Linked DNA regions of Homo sapiens: region 1 is linked to region 2. The links are contacts of gene promoters, found by promoter capture Hi-C in human tissues and cell types (Jung and others, 2019). All regions are on one chromosome and are shown on one strand. The core of a region is centred on a gene start or on the middle of the fragment in contact, and the rest is flanking DNA. Distances in the headings are between cores, read along the strand shown.

Region 1 (5,992 bases), core at 945-3,444, 750 kb after region 2:
GCAAAATATGTGTCAGAGAAAAGGCACAATTTGTATAATGAGCAATGCAGGCAACTGACTTGTGGTTTTGGCTGGGATAAATTTGTAACAGTGTTAAGACTGTTAAACATGACCTAGATTAGCCCAGCCACTCAAATGTTAGGTGAATATTGAAGAAAAATAAAGTCATTAGGAATGTTGATGTTGCTAAATTCCTTCTGAGTAATAAATGTCAAACTGTCAAGGGAAAACTGCACAAAATCTTATGAGGCTAGAAGGAAAAGTGGCAGAGGAGTTCATGGGCAAGTAACAATTTTACAGAAAAGTTACCTGGAGGATACCTACACAGCAACAGGCCCTGAATGACCCATCATAAGGCGACTAAAGGGATGCAAGTCAACACCACCAATGGCTGCTTGAAGACAAGCTAACGGGCCATAGTGGCCAAATAAGTTGTCATTAAATTGGACTAATGATGAAACCTATAGAACTTGCATGAGTCTTGCATATAAATATTTCAACCAGCATATAACAAAATGAACAACCCAAGATCAAGAGAATCAAAGATTCAACAGGATATTCTCAAACTAGAAATGGACTGAAAAGGAACCTCAGGGGTAGCGTTCATCAAAATGATGCAGACAGTGAAACTACAGTAGACTATAGTTCAAAGAGCAAATTTCAGAATATGTTTTAAAAAAAGCAGCTACCTCTCCAAATGGCATAATTTACAAAACTATTTTCTTTACACTGTGCAAGCTGGTGAATATTCTAATCACGAATTGCCATATACAAAACCGCAGCTTCCAAAGAACTGAATACATAAATCTAAATCTATACTAACGTAACTTTTTTTTGATAATTCAGAAGGTACTTCAGAATTGTGTGGTACCTTAAGAACTTTTATAATCAGAAATTATGTGATCCTCTAGAGATTCAGGGGATGTGGAAAGTGAAGACAGACCAATTATGCCAAAGGATACTCCACAAATTGCCCTTTTAAAAAGACACACAAACTGAATTTGTCATGTCTCAAATGATAAAGGGTCTTGCACATAATAAAAACAAAAAGTAAAACATAAACCACTATTCTAACACTAAAAATACTGGAAATTGGTAATTATAAACAATAGAAGTCTGTTAGAGTTAAGACTCATTTAAATAAATCATAGGCAACAGAACCACATATTTCATCTGGGATATTAAACGAAGCTAGAGACCTTCTAAATCTTTTACAAGAAACTGAGAGATCAAGCATCTCATTTCCCTCTAAATTTTTTGGTGCCACAATTGGCAACAGAAGAGTGGGGTGGAAGAAACACTGGGCAATAAACTACAATGATGAGCATTCTTTTTTTTTTTTTTTGAGACAGAGTCTCATTCTGTCGCCCCGGCTGGAGTACAGTGGTGCAATCTCGGCTCACTGTAACCTCCACCTCCCGGGTTCAAGTGATGCTCCTGCCTCAGTCTCCCGAGTAGCTGGGATTACAGGTGTGCACCACCACATCTGGCTAATTTTTATATTTTTAGTAGAAACAGGGTTTCACCATGATGGCCAGGCTGGTCTCAAATTCCTGACCTCAAGTGATCCACCGGGCCCCAGCCTCCCAAAGTGCTGGGATTACAGGCGTGAGCCACCGCGCCTGGCCATGGTGAGCATTCTTAACGCTCTATATGAGGTAATATGCACCTCTTCAGAAGACAGACTTTCAGAAAGCTTGGGTTTTAACAGAAAAGACACTCCAACAACACAGACAGCTGACGGCGCTGACTGCGTCCTGGCAGGAGCCAGCACAGAGGAGGGCTGGGAGCGATCTTTGTTTTCTTTTGAAATTCTGAGCTACATAAATGGATTATCACTCAAAACAGAAGTTAAAACTTAAATTTAATAATAAATTTTTAAGAAGTAAAACAATACAAATCTTAAGCTAAAATGTATTATTTAAAGATCCAAACAACCTGCTAATCAGAAAGACTCAGTATTTTCAGCTTCAAGACAATGTCTCTCCAATTTATGATATGAGCTGTTGTTCCATAAAAAAATCCTTAGGCACGTACTGAGTTTACTGAATGCTTAAAGACAATTCTTCCTTGGTGCCTTAATATTTCAAAGAAAAATTAATACACAGAGGGGTTTTTTAAAAGTTGGAATTGGCATACATCTGCGCTGCACTTGATATCAATAAGACAAGCTGTACAAAAAATATTTCATTCAGTCATTTTATAAATGTAAATACATACAAATCGGTGACGGATATAGAGGAGAAAATAGATAAAATTGAAAAATACGCTGAGGTTGTTATTTTCATAACACTTGAAAATTAAGGAAAAAAATGAATGGGAGTTTGTGATGCTGTTACAAAGTTCTTAATAACCTATACAATGTATGTTTCCCTCTAATTTATTAGAACAAGGAAAAGGAACTAAATTGCTGCAGTGAACACCTAGGTACTTGGAACTAGGAAAATGCTCTTCATGTTTTTACATGTAATTCTTACAATCTGCTGAAGCAGGCATTACTCCTGTTTTACAAATGAGCAAACAAAGGCATCAGAGAGGTCACATGCTTAATAAACTGGGGGAGCACAACACTCAAACCCTAACTGTCTCTGACCAACGTCCACGTGCTTCTCCTCTGGAAATGGGCTAACATCGAAAAAACAGTTGCAAACTTCTTTAGTGAGCAGTAGTTCCCAAACACTGTGAGACAAGAGACAGAGTGAGCTTGTGGAGGGCAGGAATTTCATTCAGAAAATGGTATTTTAGAAAACAAACACGGCAGCAGTATGGAAAATGAACTAGAAAGAGAAGGAACAGAGACAGGGAGGGCCAGCAGCATCAATCTCCAAATGTCCACCGACAGACTTCTGTCTTCCTCATTTAGCTTGTTCCTCCTCCGTTAAGCTGCCATCGCCACCAGAGGGAACCTCAGAGATAGTAAGTGTTACAAGATCCTTCTACAGACAAGATGGGTTTTGTCCATGTTATTTTACTCCCACTTCCAATGCTTCAATGAGTTGGCCAGATGATTTTAGTTTTTTAATTTATTATTTATTTATTTATTTGAGATGGAGTTTCACTCTTGTTGCCCAGGCTGGAGTGCAATGGCGCAGTCGTGGCTCATTGCAACCTCTGCCTCCCGGGTTCAAGCGACTCTCCTGCCTTAGCCTCCCGAGTAGCTGAGATTACAGGCATGTGCCACCACGCCTGGCTAATTTTCGTATTTTTAGTAGAGACAGGTTTTCATCATGTTGGTCAGGCTGGTCTCGAGCTCCTGACCTCAGGTGATCCACTCACCTTGGCCTCTCAAAGTGCTGGGATTACAGGTGTGAGTCACCGTGTCTGGCCCAGATTATTTCAGATTCAAAAGGTAACTATTTTTTTTCTTCATCACTATTCAGTCTTTCTATACAAATATCTAGTTGAAAAATATACTCAAAACTTTTAAGAAATAGATTCTGGTTATTCATATTACATCACAACTGAATGTACTAATATTAGAATAACATTTAAATTAACAATCACATTTGTGGGATCACTACATAAATGTGTCAGGGGCACCCAGGGATAAAATATTCTCCTAGAGGTCTGCGTGCTCTTATTCTTTTTTAATCGTTACAATTAATAGTGAAGATAAACAAAATCAATGAAGCTGCAGAAGGGCACTTTCTCAAGTCAAATGAACCTTGAACCTAAAAATAAAGGGACCTTAAAATAGTGGTGGGTAAATGGAAGCCATCTAGTATAACAAAAATTTGAGGGTTGACATTCCCCTAAAGCCTCATAAAACTTCGCAAAGGATGGTTATTAAATCATGAAGAAGTCAACAGTATTCTAAAAAATACTTTACACAAAAACACTCTCATGAGCGGCCGGCAAAGCCACAGGAGAGATCTCCCATGGCCTTGGGACCTGTCTCCTGAGTTGGAACTGGCTGGAGAAGAACAACCTGGGAGACTCCTGCTGCCAGAAGGGAGAGGCAGGTGAGAATCACTGAGGCAAAGGCAATCTCCACCCCCATGGCTGGTTTGTATTCCCTAAATTAACTCCATTGATTTCAGAACTGTTTAATTTGGAAATTGCTGTACATATCAACACAAGGTAAACTTATAGTATTAGGATTTGACACAACAGCTCAGTATCTATTAATACAGTAAGTATCATGCTGAATATATTTATGTGATGGGTATTTGAAAGAAAAATAACCTTCTTACCTTTCACAGTACCACCATGGGCATGCTGAGGAGTGGAGAGTCTAATACCATTTATTCTACTATTCAATCTGTTGTCAGTTTTCTTAATTTTCTCCCTAAACCAAATGAACATATTGCCAACATTTTAATAAGGTTATCTACCAAACACATTCAGTACAGTATTGATAAAATTTCCTTCAAGACTCTTCAAATTTTTTTAGTAAGGAATAATCTAAATACAATTAAGATTCGCCCTTCCGTGGAAAGTTCTGAGAGTTTTACCCCTCCAAACTGAATGCAATATTTGACAGTAGCTTTATTTTTATCACCTGCATATATTAATATTTTGAACCAAAAGAGTAAAACCCAGAATTAAAAATATAAAGAAAACTAACTAAAAAAATACTATGTTGTATACTATCATAAACTAAACAGGCCTATTATCAAAGGCTATATGCTGTCTTTCCTTAAATTGAACCTACTTTTCTGTTTGTGGCTTTCCTTTCTTCTTATTTATTGAAGATAAACTCCGTTTTTCAGCAGAATGCTAGTAGAAAGAATAAAAAGACAAATCAGACAAAAGCTAAACCATTTTGACGTTTTTACTCTCATAATAAACATTAAAATGATAGATTCCCAGTTGTATATTCTAACAAGTGTTGATTTCCAACCTATTTTTGAAGTTTCCCACCTGAACCACTAAAATTTACATATTCTGTGACACTTACATATTTTCCTCATGATTAATACAGTATTATTTTCTATTTTTCTTTGAAAATGGACCTACATTCTTTTTTCTGACTATAAAATGAAACACAATCAAGTGACTGGCACTTGCTGTAGGTTTACTACTATTCTCTTCAAGTACAATTCCATATAACTGTCAACACTTAACTACGTCAACTCTAAGAAGAGAGGGTGCAGGCACTGGAGTAGGGGAGGGAAAGTAAACTCAGACGGGCTTTGAAAATAGGTCACTAATTATGACTAAAACTATTTATAATTTCTCAGAATATGCTTTAATGCATAAAAACACATTCCAAGAAGAGTTAACATTTGGATCTGAGCGTTGGCCAGGGACAACATCGGGTTAATGAATCAATTTTCTAGAGAGAAGTTTCATTCCATACTTGTAACATATACACAGGGACCTCCCCCCATATCTGCGAGGCCATACGACATGAAACATACTTAACAGCATTCTGCTCTCTGATCACACCCAAATCTTAAGAAAGCAAACATCCCCTAATGCATTCTGAAGTGTCAATAAACTGACCCAAATATTCATGAAGAAAGGTCAGTTGGAAAATTTCTATCACAAATAGCAAGGCAGTGATTGAAATCTGAATTCTAATTCTTTCAAGACCAAAAAATTTTGGCATAACAATCTGATGTACACCTTTGTTAAACAGTGAAGGTATTATTTTTAAAATTTTTATTTTGTTTTAAATTTATTTTTTAGAGACAGGGTTTCACTCTGTTGCCCAGGCAGAAGTACAGTGGTGTGATCATGGCTCACAGCAGCCTTGAACTCCTGGGCTCAGGTGATCCTCCTGCCTCAGCCTCCCGAGTAGCTGAGACTACAGGTGTGTACCACCACACTCAGCTAATTTTTAAATTTTTTATACAGACAGGGTTTCAGTATGTTGCCGAGGCTGGTCAAATGGGTGGCCTCAAGCAATCCTCCTGCCTTAGCTTCCCAAAGTGCTGGGATTAGAAGCGTGACCCATGGCGCCTGGGAAGGTGTCATATTAAAGTGTACTAATCTTACACAAGCAATAAAAGTAATCTAAATACACATTTTCAGGTCTCAGAAGAGC
Region 2 (5,868 bases), core at 192-2,691:
GGAAGTCCTCATCGTGTAGCACTAAACCAGTGTAAAAGGTGTTAGGGACAGAGGGAAAACATTGACTTAAACTGTCGTAAAGCCCTTGATAAACCCCTTCCCTGGAGCGCTGAGTTCTGCATGGCCTGGGCCACGGACTAGGTGTTCAGGTGGACACGGGCGGGGATGCGCGTGCGTGTGTAGTGCGCGGACACCTAGGAAGCTACTTGAAAGTAAACACCACGCTCGGGGCGTCCCTAGACATTGCTTAAAACGTGCAGAGTCACCTGTCTTCACAGCAGGGCAGCGCTGAGGTCCCACTGCTGGGGGCGGTGGGGGGCGGCATTGGCCTGGGTCTTCCCCCGGCGGCCGAGCGCCGGTAACACAACGTGTGTGTGTGTAGGCGCGTGTACACACTCTCATACACGGCTAGAAAGGGTCCAGGCGACACACACACTCCCACATACACGGCTAGAAAAGGTCCAGGCGAGACACACACACACACACACACACACACACACACTCCACACACACTCACACGGCCAGAAAGGGTCCAGGCGGTTCCCGGCGCTTTTCCAGCCCTTGTTTTCATGGCGCACCCTCCCGCCAGCCGCCCCCCTCCGCACTCCGTCGTCCGCCCGGCCCGGCCGCGTGCGGTTCCCCGGGAGCCCCCACCCCGTCGCGGACCCCAGCGACCACCAAGTCCGCACGCGGCCTGCCGCAGGCCTGAGCAGAAGGCCCCGCGCACACCCACCGCGCCGCGGCCGCGCGGGAGGCCTGTGCCGCCCGCGCCACCCACTGGCCGGGCCCCGCGGGCGCAGCGGAGCGGGCGGGTGGCCGGCCCGGACGCGCCCTCCCCGGCCGCGGCCCCGCGCGCCATGTGCCCCCGGCGGGACGCGCCACTCCCGGGCCTGCCGCGGCGCCTTTAACCCGGGCCAGGGAGCGGGGCGGAGGGGGCGGTCGGGTGGCTCAGAGGAGGGCTCTTTCTTTCTTCTTTTTTTGAATGAACCGTGTGACGTTACGCACAGGAAACCGGTCGGGCTGTGCAGAGAATGAAGTAAGAGGACAGGCACCACAGCCCCGCTCCCGCCCCCTTCCTCCCGCGCCCGCCCCTCCGCGCCGCCTGCCCGCCCGCCCGCCGCGCTCCCGCCCGCCGCTCTCCGTGGCCCCGCCGCGCTGCCGCCGCCGCCGCTGCCAGCGAAGGTGCCGGGGCTCCGGGCCCTCCCTGCCGGCGGCCGTCAGCGCTCGGAGCGGGCTGCGCGGCGGGAGCTCCGGGAGGCGGCCGTAGCCAGCGCCGCCGCGCAGGACCAGGAGGAGGAGAAAGGGTGCGCAGCCCGGAGGCGGGGTGCGCCGGTGGGGTGCAGCGGAAGAGGGGGTCCAGGGGGGAGAACTTCGTAGCAGTCATCCTTTTTAGGAAAAGAGGGAAAAAATAAAACCCTCCCCCACCACCTCCTTCTCCCCACCCCTCGCCGCACCACACACAGCGCGGGCTTCTAGCGCTCGGCACCGGCGGGCCAGGCGCGTCCTGCCTTCATTTATCCAGCAGCTTTTCGGAAAATGCATTTGCTGTTCGGAGTTTAATCAGAAGAGGATTCCTGCCTCCGTCCCCGGCTCCTTCATCGTCCCCTCTCCCCTGTCTCTCTCCTGGGGAGGCGTGAAGCGGTCCCGTGGATAGAGATTCATGCCTGTGCCCGCGCGTGTGTGCGCGCGTGTAAATTGCCGAGAAGGGGAAAACATCACAGGACTTCTGCGAATACCGGACTGAAAATTGTAATTCATCTGCCGCCGCCGCTGCCTTTTTTTTTTCTCGAGCTCTTGAGATCTCCGGTTGGGATTCCTGCGGATTGACATTTCTGTGAAGCAGAAGTCTGGGAATCGATCTGGAAATCCTCCTAATTTTTACTCCCTCTCCCCGCGACTCCTGATTCATTGGGAAGTTTCAAATCAGCTATAACTGGAGAGTGCTGAAGATTGATGGGATCGTTGCCTTATGCATTTGTTTTGGTTTTACAAAAAGGAAACTTGACAGAGGATCATGCTGTACTTAAAAAATACAAGTAAGTTCTCTGCACAGGAAATTGGTTTAATGTAACTTTCAATGGAAACCTTTGAGATTTTTTACTTAAAGTGCATTCGAGTAAATTTAATTTCCAGGCAGCTTAATACATTCTTTTTAGCCGTGTTACTTGTAGTGTGTATGCCCTGCTTTCACTCAGTGTGTACAGGGAAACGCACCTGATTTTTTACTTATTAGTTTGTTTTTTCTTTAACCTTTCAGCATCACAGAGGAAGTAGACTGATATTAACAATACTTACTAATAATAACGTGCCTCATGAAATAAAGATCCGAAAGGAATTGGAATAAAAATTTCCTGCATCTCATGCCAAGGGGGAAACACCAGAATCAAGTGTTCCGCGTGATTGAAGACACCCCCTCGTCCAAGAATGCAAAGCACATCCAATAAAATAGCTGGATTATAACTCCTCTTCTTTCTCTGGGGGCCGTGGGGTGGGAGCTGGGGCGAGAGGTGCCGTTGGCCCCCGTTGCTTTTCCTCTGGGAAGGATGGCGCACGCTGGGAGAACAGGGTACGATAACCGGGAGATAGTGATGAAGTACATCCATTATAAGCTGTCGCAGAGGGGCTACGAGTGGGATGCGGGAGATGTGGGCGCCGCGCCCCCGGGGGCCGCCCCCGCACCGGGCATCTTCTCCTCCCAGCCCGGGCACACGCCCCATCCAGCCGCATCCCGGGACCCGGTCGCCAGGACCTCGCCGCTGCAGACCCCGGCTGCCCCCGGCGCCGCCGCGGGGCCTGCGCTCAGCCCGGTGCCACCTGTGGTCCACCTGACCCTCCGCCAGGCCGGCGACGACTTCTCCCGCCGCTACCGCCGCGACTTCGCCGAGATGTCCAGCCAGCTGCACCTGACGCCCTTCACCGCGCGGGGACGCTTTGCCACGGTGGTGGAGGAGCTCTTCAGGGACGGGGTGAACTGGGGGAGGATTGTGGCCTTCTTTGAGTTCGGTGGGGTCATGTGTGTGGAGAGCGTCAACCGGGAGATGTCGCCCCTGGTGGACAACATCGCCCTGTGGATGACTGAGTACCTGAACCGGCACCTGCACACCTGGATCCAGGATAACGGAGGCTGGGTAGGTGCACTTGGTGATGTGAGTCTGGGCTGAGGCCACAGGTCCGAGATGCGGGGGTTGGAGTGCGGGTGGGCTCCTGGGGCAATGGGAGGCTGTGGAGCCGGCGAAATAAAATCAGAGTTGTTGCTTCCCGGCGTCCCTACCTCCTCCTCTGGACAAAGCGTTCACTCCCAACCTGACCGATAACGCCTGCCATCTAAAAGTCTTTAACTTGCTTGCTAGTCGTGGAGATCCAAAGATCTAGCGTTTGTAATCCAGTAGGATGTGGTGGTAAATGGTACCCCTTCAGTGTTTCTCAAGCTGAAGGTCCAGGAGTCCCCAGGACCACCGTTTCCTGGCTTGAGCAGCTTGTTGGAACCGGAGGGAGGTTTCAGGGACTGCTTATGAACCAGATACCAGGTTGGGTCTTGACAGTCTGCATCCCAAACAAGCTCCCCTGAAACAAGCCCGTTGTACACTAAAATTGGAGAACAACCCGATTAGAAGAATAGACTCCACAGAAGACCAAGGGCATCATCAATCGGTAAAATTTTCCAAAAGAGGAAAACCAATGTAAGTCTTTTTCCCTGAAAAACTTAGTTGTGTTTGTAAAGAGCTAAGTTGACATTCCAAAGTCCTTGGACTGGAATCTCCAGTGTGTGCCATGTTCCCAGTGGGCGTGATGAGGTGTCCTGAGGAGTATCAGGCTATGGCTTTGCTACCTTGTCAGTGACAGAATTTGCATCGGCTGCATTCTTTGTATTCTATAATTTGTGTATGGTTTACCAGTTTGCTAGAATGTTAGAATCTTTTGTTTTTCACCACTCAGAGTGGACCTAATTTTGTGGTCGGCTGAAAAAAATTTGCATCTAGGTATCTATGTAAAGTGTAGAAGAATTGATTCTTAGCTGTGGATTATCTTACCCTTACTTTAGTTGAAGTGATTGATACCTGTGGCTTTGAAGAACATTTGTGAGATGATCTTTTTCTCGTACTGTGCTAGATAGAGCTTTCATCATTATACCATACAATTGTACTTTTCTGAGATTCTTTGTTGGAGGGGGTTTAGTTCCTAAGAGTCAAGGATTGTAATGGAGATCTATATCTCATATCTAAAATGATGAATTTATGAAAAAGTAATTCTTGTGTGAAGTTTTTTTTTTTTTTACACTTTTTGTTTTAATCTGAAGAGTTATCTTTGAAAAACAGGATGCAATTCAGTGCTTCCTTTTATAGCCTCTTGGGAGAATGACTAATGTCATTATTTTATAGGACCTAACAGGAGCAAAAAGCCTAGAAATTACTGCAAGTGGATTAGATGTCAAGAAGCACACCACATGTTTTTATTACATTTTACAAAGTGTGCTCATACTAGGAGGCCAAATAGAGAAAAGGCCAAGAAAAGTAGATGATTGATGTGAACATCTGATCTTATTTGACCAAAGTTGACAAAATATTGATGCCACTGTTTGGTGTTTAAAAGTAAGATTAACTAAAATGCCCCAATTTAAATTTCTAAAATTTAAATCCTCTTCTTGAATTGTTTGTTTGTTGAGATCTCACATTATCAGATCTTTAGTAATTCTGGAAGAATTTGCTAAAGGGTGAAAAGAATATTTTTGTTAAATATTTGGTTAAGTAGGTGGTTTGATTTTTAATCACTATAACTAAAGGGGTTGGGACTTCCAGATTCCCAAAGGATCCTTTTAAACCAAAGTAAAACTGATTTAATAGTTTTACTATTTCACATTTTTGTGAAAAATTCACACTTACAAATTTTCTTTCTACTTGAAATAAATCCAAGGTGGTAACTGGTATCTGTCTATCAAATAAGTTAATAAAAATGTGGGAAACAGAGACACATGTTTATGACAGAAATTAAGATACAACCTTGATATTTGTTGCTGAATTTCAGTGTGTTACCCTCTCATGTAACTGAAGTTTCTTTTTAAGTAAAGGCTCACTTTTTTCTTTTTGTGAAACAGAGTTTTCATAGTAGACCTATCTTTGTGGTCAACAGGTATCTGAGGTTGATAAATGTAGAGGCTACATTTTATGATGCCAAACCACAATGACATACCATAGAACATGATAAAAATTTTTTGACAAAACTGCTTCTAGTAAAAATAAATCATGTAGAAGCACAGATGGTTGATGGTAAAATATGTAATAGCTTTCAGAACAATGCATAGATGGTGACTATATAGGAAAACAAAGGAATTTAGAGAAAAAATATATATATATACCAGGAAATGCACTCATAGGACACTTTGGAATAAAAGTGGTAGTGTTTGAGAATGATGAATGATTTGCCTATCATTTCAAATGTGCATTATTAATCTAAAAGTCATTTTAGGCATTTGGCATACAGACAGATTTTCTTCACATTTACACCAATTGGGGTTACATCTCTAATAATATGTTGTATTTTATAGTGTAAGGTAGTCTTAATGGTAAAGCTTCAGAAGAGAGCTAGCATATTTTCTTGGCATGTGACAATAATCTGCACTGTCCCCAGGGCTCCGTGGATTAGCCCATCTCCTGAATACTACACTGAATACTCCAGGCTTTAGACTGCAAGTCATTTCTTTTTCTTTGCTGCTGCTCGTAGAAAATTGGAACCTTGTGAGGCTGAGGAAATCTGTTTGACTTTTGTGTTCCATAACATGGATAAATCAGGTCCTTGGAATGATCAGCCTCTGATAGATTGTCCCAGAAGACTACAAATTAAATAAAGACTAAAGAAGTAATTGGCTGTAGA

The links. Contacts are between HindIII fragments. The study calls those that stand out against the background at their distance.
Region 1: a fragment that was not itself captured here is called in contact with the fragment with the promoter of BCL2 in region 2 in 1 of the 25 tissues and cell types used here (dorsolateral prefrontal cortex).

Annotation. Positions count from the first base shown.
Region 1 is chr18:62,563,298-62,569,289 of GRCh38, reverse strand. ZCCHC2 (zinc finger CCHC-type containing 2) reads right to left here. Exons shown (of 14, transcript NM_017742.6): 10 at 4,655-4,719; 11 at 4,194-4,288. Among named protein-coding and RNA genes, the nearest start is that of ZCCHC2, 43 kb to the right of the region's middle. The HindIII fragment of the contact is 3,379 bases long and covers 505-3,883 here.
Region 2 is chr18:63,315,342-63,321,209 of GRCh38, reverse strand. BCL2 (BCL2 apoptosis regulator) reads left to right here and starts at 1,441. Exons shown (of 3, transcript NM_000633.3): 1 at 1,441-2,036; 2 at 2,258-3,128. The coding sequence starts at 2,544. RefSeq lists silencers at 565-634, 665-874, 1,035-1,224, 2,580-2,819 and an enhancer at 4,110-4,159. The HindIII fragment of the contact is 10,586 bases long and covers 1-5,868 here.